2 separate regions of the Homo sapiens genome follow, and region 1 is linked to region 2. Evidence: promoter capture Hi-C in 16 types of primary human blood cells and fetal thymus (Javierre and others, 2016). All regions are on one chromosome and are shown on one strand. Each heading gives the region's core, a stretch centred on a gene start or on the middle of the fragment in contact. The rest is flanking DNA. Distances are from core to core; before and after follow the strand shown.

The links. The method cuts DNA at HindIII sites, captures the fragments that hold promoters and counts their contacts. A CHiCAGO score of 5 or more calls a contact.
Region 1: a fragment that was not itself captured here is called in contact with the fragment with the promoter of HSPA13 in region 2 in 1 of 17 cell types (erythroblasts); the score reaches 6.2 in erythroblasts.

Annotation. Positions count from the first base shown.
Region 1 is chr21:15,041,133-15,048,376 of GRCh38, reverse strand. NRIP1 (nuclear receptor interacting protein 1) reads left to right here. Exons shown (of 4, transcript NM_003489.4): 2 at 4,803-4,882. Among named protein-coding and RNA genes, the nearest start is that of NRIP1, 20 kb to the left of the region's middle. The HindIII fragment of the contact is 1,343 bases long and covers 1,603-2,945 here.
Region 2 is chr21:14,381,436-14,388,527 of GRCh38, reverse strand. HSPA13 (heat shock protein family A (Hsp70) member 13) reads left to right here and starts at 5,382. Exons shown (of 5, transcript NM_006948.5): 1 at 5,382-5,433; 2 at 6,985-7,092. The coding sequence starts at 5,409. LOC105369304 (a long non-coding RNA gene) reads right to left here and starts at 5,762. Exons shown (of 2, transcript XR_007067924.1): 1 at 720-5,762. RefSeq lists enhancers at 4,846-4,975, 5,366-5,675. The HindIII fragment of the contact is 7,322 bases long and covers 1-6,285 here.

The DNA.
Region 1 (7,244 bases), core at 1,025-3,524, 660 kb before region 2:
GCTGATGTGTAGGCATACTTCATTTTATTGTGCTTCACTTTACTGCTCTTTGAAGATAATTTTGTTTTTTACAAACTGAAGGTTTGTGGCAGCCCTGCATTGAGCAAGTACCATTTTTTCAACAGCATGTTTTCAGTTTGTGTCTTTGTGGTCATGTTTTGATAATTCTCACAATATATAAAACTTTTTCATATTATTATATGTGTCATGGTGATCTGTAATCAGTGATCTTTGATGTTACTATTGTGATTGTTTTGAGGTACCATGAACTGTGCCCATATCAGCCGGCGAACTTGTTCAGTGTGGTCTGACTGCTTTACAGACTGGCTGTTCCCCCATCTCATCTCCCTTTCCTTGGGATTCCCTGTTCCTTGAGACACAACAATATTGAAATTAGGCCAATTAATAACCCTATAATGGCTAAGTATTTAAATGCAAGGAAAAGTTGTAGGTCTCTTACTTTAAATCAAGAGCTAGAAAAGGTTAAGCTCAGTGAGGAAGGCATGTCAAAAGCCAAGCTCTTCTGAAAGCTAGGCCTCTTGTGCCAGTTCACCAAGTTGTGAATGTAAAAGGAAAAGTTCTTAAAGGACATTAAAAGTGCTACTCCAGTGAACACATGAATGATAAGAACACAAAGCAGCCTGATATGGTTTGGCTGTGTCTCCACCCAAATCTCATCTTGAATTGTAGTTCCTATACTCCCCATGTGTCCTGGGAGGGACCCAGTGGGAGGTAATTGAATCATGGAGGCAGTTACCCCCATGCTGTTCTCGTGATAGTGAGTTCTCATGAGATCTGATGGTTTTTTAATTTAATTTTAATGATTTATTTATTTCTGAGAAGAAGTCTCGCTCTGCCGCCCAGGCTGGAGTGCAGTGGCGCGGTCTCAGCTCACTGCAAGCTCCGCCTCCTGGGTTCACGCCATTCTCCCGCCTCAGCCTCCCAAGTAGCTGGGACCACAGGCGCCCGCCACCACGCCTGGCTAATTTTTTGATTTTTAGTAGAGATGGGGTTTCACCATGTTAGCCAGGATGGTCTCTGTCTCCTGACCTCGTGATCTGCCTGCCTCGGCCTCCCAAAGTGCTGGAATTACAGGCGTGAGCCACCGCGCCCGGCCGAGATCTGATGGTTTTATAAGAGGCTTTTCCCACTTTGCTTGGCACTTCTTCCTGCTGCCTTGTGAAGAAGGTGCCTTGCTTTCCCCTCACCTTCTGCCATGATTTTAAGTTTCCTGAGACCTCCCCAACAATGCGGAACTCTGAGTCAATGAAACCTCTTTCCTTTATAAATTACCCAGTCTCGGGCATTTTTTCATAGCTGTGTGAGAACGGACTAATAGACAGCCTTATTGCTAATATGGAGAATATTTTAGTAGTCTGCCTAGAAAATCAAAGCAGCCATAACATTCCCTTAAGCCAAAACCTAATCCAGAGCAGCGCCTCACTCTAATTCCACAAAGGCCGAGAGGAGATGAAGAAACTGCAGAAGAAAAGTTGGAAGCTAGCAGAGGTTTGTTCATGAAGTTTAAGGATAGAAGCTGCCTGGATAACATAAAAGTGCACGATGAAGCAGGTAATGCTGATGTAGAAGCTACAGCAAGCTTCCAGAAGATCTAGGTAAGATCATTGATGAAGATGGCTACATTAAACAGCAGATTTTCAGTGTAAATGAAACAGCCTTCTGTTGGATGAATATGCCATCTAGGACTTTAATAGCTAGAGAGGAGAAACCAATGCCTGGCCTCAGAACCTCAAAGGACAAACTGACTTTCTTGTTAGTGGATAATACAGCTGGTGACTTGAAGTGGAAACCAATGTTTGGCCATTCCAAAAATCCTAAGCCCCTTAAGAATTATACTAAATCTCTTCTACCTATGCTGTATAAATGGAAGAAGAAGCCTGGATGACAGAACATCTGTTTACAGCATGGTTTGCTGAATATTTTAGGCCCCCTCTTGAGACCAACTGCTCAGAAAAAAAAGATTCCTATCGAAATATTACTGTTTATTGACCACGCACCTGGTCACTCAAGAGCTCTGATGGAGATGTACAAGGAAGTTAATGTTAATTTTCATGGCTGCTAATACAACATCTATTCTGTAGCCTGTGGATCAAGGAGTAATTTCAACTTTCAAGTCTTACTATTGAAGAAATACATCTTGTGAAGCTGTAGTTGCCATAGATAGTGATTCCTCTGATGGATCTGGGCAAAGGCAATTGTAAACCTTCTGAAAAGGATTCACCATTCTAGATGCCATTGAGAACATTTGTGATTAATGGGAGGAGGTCAAAATACTAACATTAATAGGAGTTTGAAAGAAGCTGCTTCCACCCCTTATGGATAACTTTGGCGGGTTGAAGACATCAGTGGAGGAAGTAACTGCAGATGTGGTGGAAATTGCAAGAAAACTAGAATTAGAAGTGGAGCCTGAAGATGTGACTGAATTTGTATAATCTCATGAGAAAACATGGACGGATGAGGAGTTACTCCTTATAGATGAGCAAAGAAAGTAGTTACTAGAGATGGAATCTACTCCTGATTGAAGATACTGTGAACATTGTTGAAATAACAACGAAGGATTTAGAATATCATGTAAACATAATTGATAAAACAGTGGCAGGGTTTGAGAGGATTGACTCCCATCTAGAAAGATATTCTACTGTGGGTAAAATGCTATCAAACAGCATTACATGCTACAGAGAATTATTCTGTGAAAGGAAGAATCAGCCGATGTGGCAAACTTCATTGTTGTCTTGTTTTAAGAAATCATTACAGAGACCCCAACCTTCAGCAACCACAAGCCTGATCATTTGGCAGCCATCAATATGGAGGCAAGGTGCCCACCACTGAAGAGTAAAACTCTCTAAAGATTCACATGATTGTTAGCATTTTTAGCAATAAAGTATTTTTATACTAAGGTATGTACATTGTTTCGACATAAAGCTTTTGCACACTTAATAGACTATAGTACAGTGTAAACATAACTTTTATGTGCACTAGGAAACCAAAAAACTTGTGTGACTTGCTTTATTGTGATATTTGCTTTATTTTAGTGATCTGGAATGGAACCCACTATATCTCTGAGGTATGCCTTTATGTGCTTAGAGACTTGTATTAATAATGCCTGAGTACCATGCTGGTTGGTATAGGACGTCAGACAGCGACACTAGAGTCCCAACTCATCTGGGTAGAATGGACACCTACCACCCAACCAGGCTGATTGTCTGGGCCGGGGGGATTAGGAGAGCATTGAAATAAGATACTGGAGGAGTCTTACTGATGAAGAACTGACAGTGAATGAGTGGATGAGAGAGAGAATGTGCATGTGTGTGTAGTAATTAAAGGCATATATTTTTCATTGTAGTTGGTCCATATAAAACTACCGTCTTCTCTTTTATATTTTTACTTAAGCCTGGCATATTAATTGATTAAGGCTCTGTGATTAATTGATGTCATTTATCAGACATTTACTGAGTACCAGCTGTATACCTTGCACCATGCTGGGTATTGAAGGCTCACAGACACAGGGAGAATAACAATAAGCAAGATACAGACTAAGTGACCTACAGGTATAGTGGTGAAGAGCTGGATTTTGGGGAAGTATTACTTTAAGCAATTTGTTATCTTTAAGTGGTTTTAAGGAGACTGAAGGGCCCCCAGTAAAATGAAATGAAAATGAAAAATAGCTACTTTATTTTGGGAGGTTAGAATTCAGGTTTACAGATGTATTTTTATTCAAAGCTATAATCTGTGAGAACTGATCATAGGTTATAGGCTAGGAATTGAGAGTTCTAGAAGTATAAGTCAGATCTAAGTGGCGTGGCTGATAGAAATGGAATGCTGCTATGGTGGTATCAGGGAGTTCGCATGGTACCTCCCTTATCACCGCTAGCTTCACTGTCCATTGGCCTGTTGACCAAAATAAAGTTTCCTCAGCCACCACAATGTTAAATTGTTTGCTACATCTCTTGCTGGCCAAAAACTTTGATCCACTCTTTTGTTCCTGAAAGTATGAACTTTTCCACGTCAGTGTCATTCTATATCTAGTATGGTTCTAATTCTGAGTTTAACATTTTCTGTTCCTAGTGGTACAGAAAAGAAATGAGGTGTTTCAAACTCTGCAATGACTGTTAAATAATTCTAATACTTTTTCTCCCAGAATCCTTGACTGAAATTCCTCTTTATCTTTGACATTAACTTTTTACATCATTGACAATAGGGACAATCTTTATAGTAAAATAAAAACAGATGAGTAGTGGGCCGGGTGTGCTGGCTCACGCCTGTAATCCCAGCACTTTGGGAGGCCGAGGCAGGTGGATCACCTGAGGTCAGGAGTTTGAGATCGGCCTGGCCAACATGGCGAAAACTCGTCTCTACTAAAAATACAAAAACTAGCCGGGCGTGGTGCTGGGCACCTGTAATCCCAGCTACTTGGGAGACTGAGGTGGGAGAATCGCTTGGACCTGGAAGGCGGAGGTTGCAGTGAGCCGAGATCACGCCACTGCACTCCAGCCTGGGTGACAGAGGGAGACTCCACCTCAAAAAACAAACAAACAAAAAAACAATTGGGTAGTGTATTTTGGCAAATAATTCTGTAATGAAAGCTGTTTTGTTACATGTGGTCAACAACTATGTCCAAAGAAAGCATGTATCATGAAGAATATGAATACTTTTTTTTACCTTGTAATACATCTTTTTTGTTGTTTTTTGAGATGATTTAGTTAGTAGTTAAAATTCCATTGTAAAACAAATCTTTGAGATAAGGTGCACTTGAAGTAACACTTATTTCTCTTAATTTTCAGGAAGTGTTTGGATTGTGAGCTATTTCAGAACTGTTCTCAGGACTCATTATTTTAACATTTGGGAGAAACACAGCCAGAAGGTATTGTCTTTTGTCTCATTGCCCCACTTTTAAAAATGTTATCAAGCCTTTCCAATTGTAGAAAAGTAAGACTGTTATGCCACATTTTGTTATTTTTCTTTAACTTTTAGATATGGATAAACTACCTTGCCATTTGTCACAAAGAAGGTTATATTTCAATTTTGGTAAATCAAAATTTTGTGTAAGCGAATAAAACGTCTGGTTTAGAGTAAACCAGTTTTACCTATTTTAAACACTGAGGTATTTACATTTTACTTTACTACTATAGAACTATTTTAAAGAATGTCTTGATTTGAAAATGAGATACATAAAGTTCCTTTTTATCTAAGACAGTGTGAAGTATACCTGAAACATTCAGGCAGTCTTAAAAGTCTTCCTGCCTGTGACAGCTCTACCTTCTAGTGTAGGGATCAGCTGCCATCTGCATTTGGATCAGTCTGTCATCAGAGTCCGTGGACAGACTCAGCCAGGCCACCTGGTTTTGCCTCCGAACATCCATTTGCGAAATTCTCTCTTTGCATTATCATTTGTGGATAGATTGGTATAGCATAATAATTTATCTGCTTGTAGGCCCAGAGTGTCAGGACATGTGACATATTACTAGGAAGGAAGGTTATGTTAAAATCATCTGTTGAGAAACTTACTCACTTTGTGCTTTGTCTTTTGTACCTTATCTTAGTCCATTTGAGCTGCTGTAACAAATACCATAGATGGGAGGCTTATACACCATAGAGGTTTATTTCTCACAGTTCTGGAGGCTGGGAAGTCCAAGACCAAGGTGCCAGCAGATTTAATGTTTAGTAAGGGCCTGTTCCTCATAGATGGCTGACTTCTCACTGTAACCTCACATGGGTGGAGGTGGCCAGAGAATTATTGGGACCTCTTTTATAAGGGTACTAATCCTGTTCATGAGGGCATTGCCCTCATGATCTAATCACTCACCAAAGGCCCCACCTCCAAATTACCCTCACATTGCAAATATGGTTTCAATTTATGAATTTTGGGGAGACACAACATTCAGGCCATAGCATACCTCATAGATCACATATGGATATGCCAGCCAATTTGACTAATGTCAGTGGTGAACATAGTCTTCTTGATCTATATCCAAGGCATCCTTCTTAATATTCGACCTTATACCTCCTCTGTATCTTGTGTTTTCCTTCTCAAAAACTTTTGCCAGCTGTCTTGCTTGGGATAGAAACAGATGAAGGAAGGATGCATAAATACATGCAATAAAATAATGTATTTGTTAAGATTATAGTGAATTGGCCACCTTCTTTTACTATAATACAGATGTAACTTTATTAGCTGAATATTCATGATTTTTATTCATATGAAATAATACAAAAATTGGTTTTTACCGATTTTCTTAATCACTGTCAAGCAGTGTGAATTTCTAGGGTTGGTTGAATACAGTCTTTTAATAAGTCTCCCCAGCATGCTGCATTGAACTTTTAAAATGGAAACTCTGTGTTTAAGATTATTATTTATTGGCAAACCAGCATATTCTTCCTCTTTTTGTCGGTTACGGGGGAAAGGCAAAAGCAAATAAGAAATGTAAATAAGCAAATTAGGTCTGTGAAAGAACTTGTAAATGAACCCAAAAAATTAAATTTAAAATATACTTTATCAGTAAAATAAATTATATGATCAGAAACTGGATTTTATGGAATTCAGAGTTATCTTTTCAAATTAAAGATGAGAATGAACTATTATAAATATTTCGTATAAACATTCACACTTAGCTATAAAGATGGAAGTTATAATTTTAATGCTAATATGAATTATCAATTCATGAAAGGTTATCATATCTCAAAATTAAAGGTATGTTTCAATAGAGTTGATAGTTATTCTTATTAAAAAGAAACTGCAAAGAAATTGAAAGTTTAGCTGAAGGATTAAATCGACAAATTCCCATGTATATTCAAGATAGGAATTAGTTTTAAGTAATTATTTTGAAAAGAAATCATAATGCATAAGGTCCTTTTAAGAAGAAGTTTCTTATTTTTATACAAAACCTCCTGAAGTGTAACTTCATGTAATCAAATAGACACCCTTATTTGCTAGCTTGATTGTTGTTTATGTAAGTATAGTCTGAGTAACTAGCACCCTACTCCAGAAGGCTTATTGTAATTTGTGTATTTTCTAATCGATCCTGCCTCTACCTAACAGGAATAGTCTTTGGCGTCTTTTACTATAGATTAGTTTTGCCTGTTTTAAACTATATAAAGTTGGAACCATGTCGTATGAACTCATCAGTGTCTTTTTTTATCAACATTATGTCTGTAAGAGTCATCCATGTTGTGTATGTTATTTGTTTTTTCCCCCTAAATTGTCTATGTTCTATTCTATGATTATA
Region 2 (7,092 bases), core at 4,133-6,632:
GATATGGTTTTATTTTTGTTGGTTAAATATCAAGTGAAATTGCTGAGTCATATGGTAAGGATATGTTTACCAACATAAGAAACTGTCAAACTGTTTTTGCAAAGTTAAGGTACCATTTTATAATATTGCTGGTGATGTATAAGAATTCCAGTTGTTCCCTATCTATGTCAACACTTAGTGAATCAACCTTTAAATTTTAGCCATTGTAGTGGACGTGTAGTGGTTTTGTTTGTCCCCAGTGTTAACTATCTTACCATGTGTTTATTGGCTATTAGTATATTTTCTTTTATGAAATCTCTATTACAATCTTACAACCAAATTTTAACTAGGTATTTTCTGTTATATTATTATTTAGTTGTAAGAGTTACTCATAAACTCTAGATACAAGTCTTTTGTTAGATATATGTACTATATTTTCTCAGTTCGTGAGTTGACTTTTCATTTCTTGATGGCATGTAAGAATAGAAATTTTTAATGTTAATGACATTCTATTTATCAACTTTTTTATGATTCATGCTTTTTATTTCACATGTAGGGAATCTTTACCTACAAGAAGATCACAAATATCTTCTCTCATGCGTTTTCCTACAGATTTGTAGTTTGAGTTTTGAGGTCTTACATTTCGATCTATAACTAATTTCAAGTTAATTTTTGTGTATGGTGTGAAGTAAAGGTATCCCAATATTTTGGGGATTTCTGGTATTCTATATAGCGCTTACCTCTTCAGAGCCCTTTGCTGCAACTTCAGCCTCCTTCCAAAACGCCTGAACTCTGGTATGTGTCTTCTATACAAGGCAAGGCCATATACTCTCCTTGGGACTTTCGTCTACACTGTGGTCTTGCATGTGTGTCTCTCAATAAAAATACAGGATGACTATAGACTTTACGTGGTTTATCTCTTTTTTCTCAGGGATCATAGTGTTTCTCTGCCTATTCTCCAAAGTCTGAAACTATTATTTCATCTAATTTTGTGCTGTTTTCCATCTCTTTCTCTGTGGAGAAAGAATAATTCTATTCATTATAATAATGGCTGTAAATGTAAGTCTATGTGCCCTGCATTTTAATCAATATTACCCTTTCAAAATGTACTCCACAAACAGGCCTATCATGAGCAACAGACACATTCACTAGCACTGCTTATCATTATTTAAATATTTTTCCAGTAAGATAGTATATAGTTTCCTAGGGCTGCCATAACAAATTATCACAAACTGCATGGCTTTAAAACAACAAAATGTTATTGTCTCATAGTTTTGGAGATTAGAAGTCCAAAATCAAAATATGAGTTGGGCATGTCCCCTCTAAAACATGCAGGGGAATCCTTTATTGACTCTTCGTAGCTCTGCTGGTTTGTTGACAATCTTTGACGTTCATTGGCTTGTAGCTACATAACTCTAATCACTGCCTTGGTCATCCCATAGCATTCTCCTTGTGTTTCCGTGCCTTTATATGGCCCTTTTCTTATAAGGATACCAGTAATACTGGATTAACAGACCACCCTATTTCTGTGTGACCTCATATTATCTGATTATATGTCCAACAACTTTATTTCCAAATAAAGTCACATTCTGAGGTACAGGGGTTTAGCACTCCAGCATACCTTTTTTGGAGGGGGCCACAATTCAACTGATTACAGATAGGTAGAAATGACATGTTATTATTCTGATTTATGTTTATTTAAGTGTGACTAAGGTAGAATATATTTTCATGTTTGTTGGTTATTTTTATTTTCTATTGTCTATGTCCTTTCTTATTTTTCAATTGAGTTGTACACCTTTATACTCTGAAGGAATTCTCCATAAAGGAATTAAATCTATTATAGATCATGATGTATGTTTAGTATTTCTTCAGTTTGTCATTTGTCTTTTGACTTCATATAAATTCAAATAGGTAATTCTGCCTGCTAGATAATCTTAAATTCTACATAATCAAATTTATCTGTTAAGTTTAGTTTTGCCTTATTTGTTTCTAGGTTTTAAGTCTTAATTTCAAAGACTTCTCCTACCCCTAAGTTAATGAATAAAACTACTTGTAGTTATTTAATTAAACATTTTATCTATTTATATTTATTTTGATGTTAAGGTATAATATCCCTTTTTACATTCAAAGTTATAAATAGCCAACTGCCCTGTTACATTTGTTGAATAATATAGCTTTCATTTATTTTGAAGAGATTGCCACTTTCTTCTTAGGTCTGTTTTATTTTTATTTCTTTTATTTAGTTTTTTGCAATAGGGTTCTTGCTATGCTGCCTAGGCTGGATTCAAAATCCTGGGCTCAGGTGTTCCTTCCACCTCAGTCTCCCGAGTAGCTGGGGCTACAAGCATGTGCTGCTGCTGAGCCTAAAGTCCATTTTCTGTTTCCTCTGTAGTATTAAGTTTGTAGTTTTGTCACTTAACATGCGCAAGGACTATATACCCATTAAATTCTTATCTTAAATATTCCAAATAAATTTTATTGTCATTTTATCAAGTCATAAAATATCCTGCTGGCTTTTTATTTGATATTTCACTGAATTCAAAGATATAAAAAGAACTGGCACCCTTAAAATAATAACCCCCTGGCATACAAATTATGGTCTCCAGATACCACACTTTCTTAATAAAAGAAAGCAGGGTTCCTTAGACATACAGTTAATTATAAGTATGAAACAAAACAAAACAAACAAAAAAAAATAAGAGGATTCTAGATATCTTTTTAGAGCAGGTAGCAAGGCAGTAAGTAAAGCGATTGTGTCAAAAGCATTCATGAGTGAATTTTGAAGAGGCTGCCATCGGCCAAAATTAAAGCAATCTAAGTATCAAGAAGGATAATAATTGCAATGGATTGTAACATAAAACACCAAACAATAACTATAAAAACAACGAATTAATTGGTCACTATTGGAGAATGATAACAATGATTACTTCCCAACCCCAGTGCCTTGACTTTTCTGTTCTTTATAACATTACTGGAATAGTCTCACCAGCATTCTTATCTAAGTATTTCATTGTTCCTCTGATTGTAAACAAACAAGAAGGGATAAGTGGTATCAGTTACTACCCCATTTAGTTGATTTAGATAATGAGATGCGAGACTTTTGAACTGATGAAGTATAGATGAACTTTCTGGACTTTGAGTTCATGCTATAATGGGATGGGACTTTGGTGGATGTTGCATTTTGTATGTGGACAGATGTGAATCTGAGGGGCCACAGAACCATTTTAGTAGGCATAATAAAGGCCTCCTCAAACTGTTAGAACTCGTGAATAGTTACCTTACATGGCAAAACGGACTTTGCAGATATGATAAGTTTACAGGGTTTGAAATGGAGATTACGTTGAGTTGTCCAGATAGGTCCAATGTAAACACATGACATCTAAAATTTGGAAGAGCGATGCAAAAAAATGTCCTCTGTAAAGGACCTGACCCGCTGTTGCTGGCTTTGAAGATGGAGAAAGAGGGTCTCTGAGCTAAGATATGTGTATGGCCTCAGAAACTGGAAACAGCTCTCAGGTTACAGCCAGCAAGAAAATGAAGACCTGAACCCTACAACTGCAAGAAAATGAATTCTGCCAATAACTCAAATTAGCAGGAAACTGATTCTCCCCTAGAACATCCAGAAAGGAATGCAGCTTTGCTAATAACTTGCTTTTAGTTAAGTGAGACCCATACCAAATTTCTGATATACCGAACTGTAAAAATAATAGATTTGAGTTGGTTTAAGACACTAAATTTGTGGTAATTTGTTAAGGCAGAAATAGAAAATGAATACAACCTATTTAGTTCAATCTTAATTCTAAAGGCCTTCTACTCTGAGATCACATAATCTTTACCTGCTTCTTGAACAAATCAGGATCTTGTTAGCAAGGAGAAAGGAGTGAGTGGCAGGGAGAATCCCAATGACCAGTGCTTGTCACAGACGGCTAATCTTAATCTGGTTTAAGTCTCTAGTTCTGTCTCTCAGAATTCTACCTCATGCTTTATGATCCACCACTTTCTAATCTATGGAATAGATGATCTCTTGCTTCTGTGCTCTTGGTAATTGAGTTCCGTCTGCCTGGAACACCTCCAGCCCACTGCCCATTACAAGTAATACTTAAGAACTAAGTGCTTGAATTCTTCACTCCTTATAAGAATCTTATTGAACAGCACTCACTATAGACACACACTTTTTATATTTCGCATTATGAAATACTTAAAAATGCGCAAAAGTAGAGAGAACATTACAATGGATCCCTATCAACCAGAATTCAGCTTCCATAATCAAAATTCACATTGATAAGTCAGAAATAACCAGCAATGTATTCCCACAGCAGGCTGACGTGTTGTCAACAGGGATGGTTTGATTTATATCTAAGCTGAGAAAATGGATTCAATTCTCCAGGATCTTAGTTATCGTGAACTCTAACAGCAAAAATGACAAAACCACTCTCAGAGGAGTCATTAAGTGCTACCAGTGACCAAGATGCGAGAAAAATCCTACTTCAGACTAGAACCTGAACAGCATGTCACAAGCGTCCTAAAATGGCTGTCACGTTACAGGACTTGCCCATAAGGTCAATTTTGGCCACTTAAGACTTACTTGAAGAGAGAGCTAAGGGTTTTCTTTTTAATTTCGTTTTTGTTTTTGTTTTTAATGGCCCACGTCAGTGCTAGCAATAGAGAAAATGTGTCCCTGATCCCTTGGATAAATCGAATTGACTGAAGAATGCTTGAATTCATTTATCCCAAAACAAAGGCAGACGGCTGAGGGTCACTGGAGTTTCAGGGCTGCTCCCAGCGTTGGAGCACGGACGCCAGAGCCGACTTCCCTCAGGCCCCGCACTGCGGCAGGGACCCTTCTACGGAGGATGGCTGGGGCTCCGGGAGGCTATAGGAACGCCATCTAGAAGCTAGATCTCAGGCAAACGAACGCGCTTTAAAAGGAATTAAAACGAAAGAACACAAACTCGAATCCTGGACCTGATTAGGGGCACGACCAAAGAAAGAAATAACTAACGGTTCTCACCCTCCCTTTCATTCCCTCCCGCGGAAAGAGAAAGGCTGGAACTCCGCTTCCCAGAATGCAAAGCGCGGGGCGGGGCTAAAGAGATAGCCTGTTTTCCCTCAAGTAGGATCGCGGGACCACAGGTTTGATTATAAACGCCAGTCTCTCGCCACGGCGCTCCTCCCCCTCAGTCTCACTGGTCCTGCCGGCCGTTGCGTGGAAGGGGGACTCAGTCGTCACTGGCAGCGGTTGAATGGAGGCTCTTTGCCCCGCGCCCTCACGGTAGATGAAGTCCTTGCTTTGGTCAGAGCGATAGCTTCTCCGATTGCCTCAGAGCAAGCGGACTACATTTCCCAGGGGGCTGCGGGACTGCCGGGAGGAGTGGGGGCGGTGCCTCACGTCTGGTACAGTCATCACAAGCCTGTTCGGCGGGACTGTGATGGCCAGAGAGATGACGATCTTAGGTGGGTTCCCGGGGGTCCTTGTTGCTCTTGCGGGCGTAGAGGCGATCTGAGGATGCCAGAGTGGGCAGGGGTGGTTGACTCACCTCCTGGATCTAGCTGGAGCAGCGGAAGGGGAGTCAGAAAGGTGACTTAGAGACGGTTTTCGGCTGTTCGGAGTGGATGGGGGCGGGGACGCCTCTAGGAGGGCCCCGGCCCCTGCAGGCCAAGGTAGGATAGACGGCGACCAGCTGTGTCCATCCCAGGGACATCAGGCTTAGGGAGGCGTTCCTTTCAACAGCACCTAGGTTTTTGAATTGCCTGTTGAATTGGGGCAAGCTATGGAAGGCTGCGAGAACGTGCACCTCCAGGACCCCTTTGTGGAGGAAGGGGGAGGAGCTACATCCGGATCTGTCGGCTCAGGGATGCTGAATTTGGAGGCTTTTTCCATCACATCGGGTTTGGAATTACCTATCCCCCACCCACACACACACCCACCCCGCGTCTCCAAGGTGATGAAATGCTTCTGAAATGTTGCCTGTAGCTGGAAGTGGAAAGTGGGATTCGCACTTGGTTTTATTTCTTTGAGTTATGTGTTGATGAGGATGAGCTAACAATTAGTAACACAGAGCCCTGAAAATTCATGTTTTGGGTCATATGTAATATGAGCGGACACAGGTGTATAACACAGCCTCCTGATACCAAATACGAGATTCATTAAAAACTAAAGGGGCATCTTTCTTCGCTTATGTTTACAATCTGCGTGGCATTTGTTCCTACTCTTTTTTCTTTTTTTTTTAAATTAGTATTTGTTGGGCATCTGCTATTCCTGGTCTGGGGGATACAACAGTGAACGAAACTTGTCTTCAAGAAGCTTTCATAGATGTTGCCGTCAGGGTTGCCCACCTTTATGCTTCTTCTCCCCTAAATATTACCACTGCAAGAAGGAAGTCCCTAGTTCATACTTAAATACATAAAAAGTTAACTGTGTTCTGTTTTGAAGTGACAGTTTCATATCTAAGGAACTTTCAAAATCATTTTATCCCATTTATTCATTTCATCCTTTTGAAAGGGAAAAGGAGGTGAGATACGAGGAGAGAATTTTAGACTTATAAAATAATAAAGTTTTTCTTGTGAGAATTTTAATAATGGAGCTTTTAAAAAAAGATAATCGAAGCTTTTTATAAAGCTGTAAAATCTAAATATCAATTGATCAAGAATATTAGATTATATCTGGCTTTTGCTCCAGATAAATGTTGTTTCTTGTCAGCATCTGCACAAATATTATTGAAATATTTTTACATTTTATTACATTTATTAGAGAATGACACAAACATACAGTTATAGGGTTTTTTGTTGTTTGTGTTTACTTCATTTTAAATTTTATTATAACCAGTTTACATTTTGAAAAACTTGCTGTCTGAGAGGAGTGCTATCAGCAGTCCTATAAAAAATTTTGAAATTTGTCTTTTTTAGCCTTGTTTCAACGAGTGATATTAAAGGGACTTTGCTACAGTAATTTAGTACATTGTACTAGTTTGATAAAATACATCTTTTAATTTTCCTTTATTTCAGGATCGGCTGTTTTGACTCTCCTGTTGGCCGGCTATTTGGCACAACAGTATTTACCATTGCCTACTCCTAAAGTGATTGGTATTGATCTTGGCACCACCTATTGTTCTG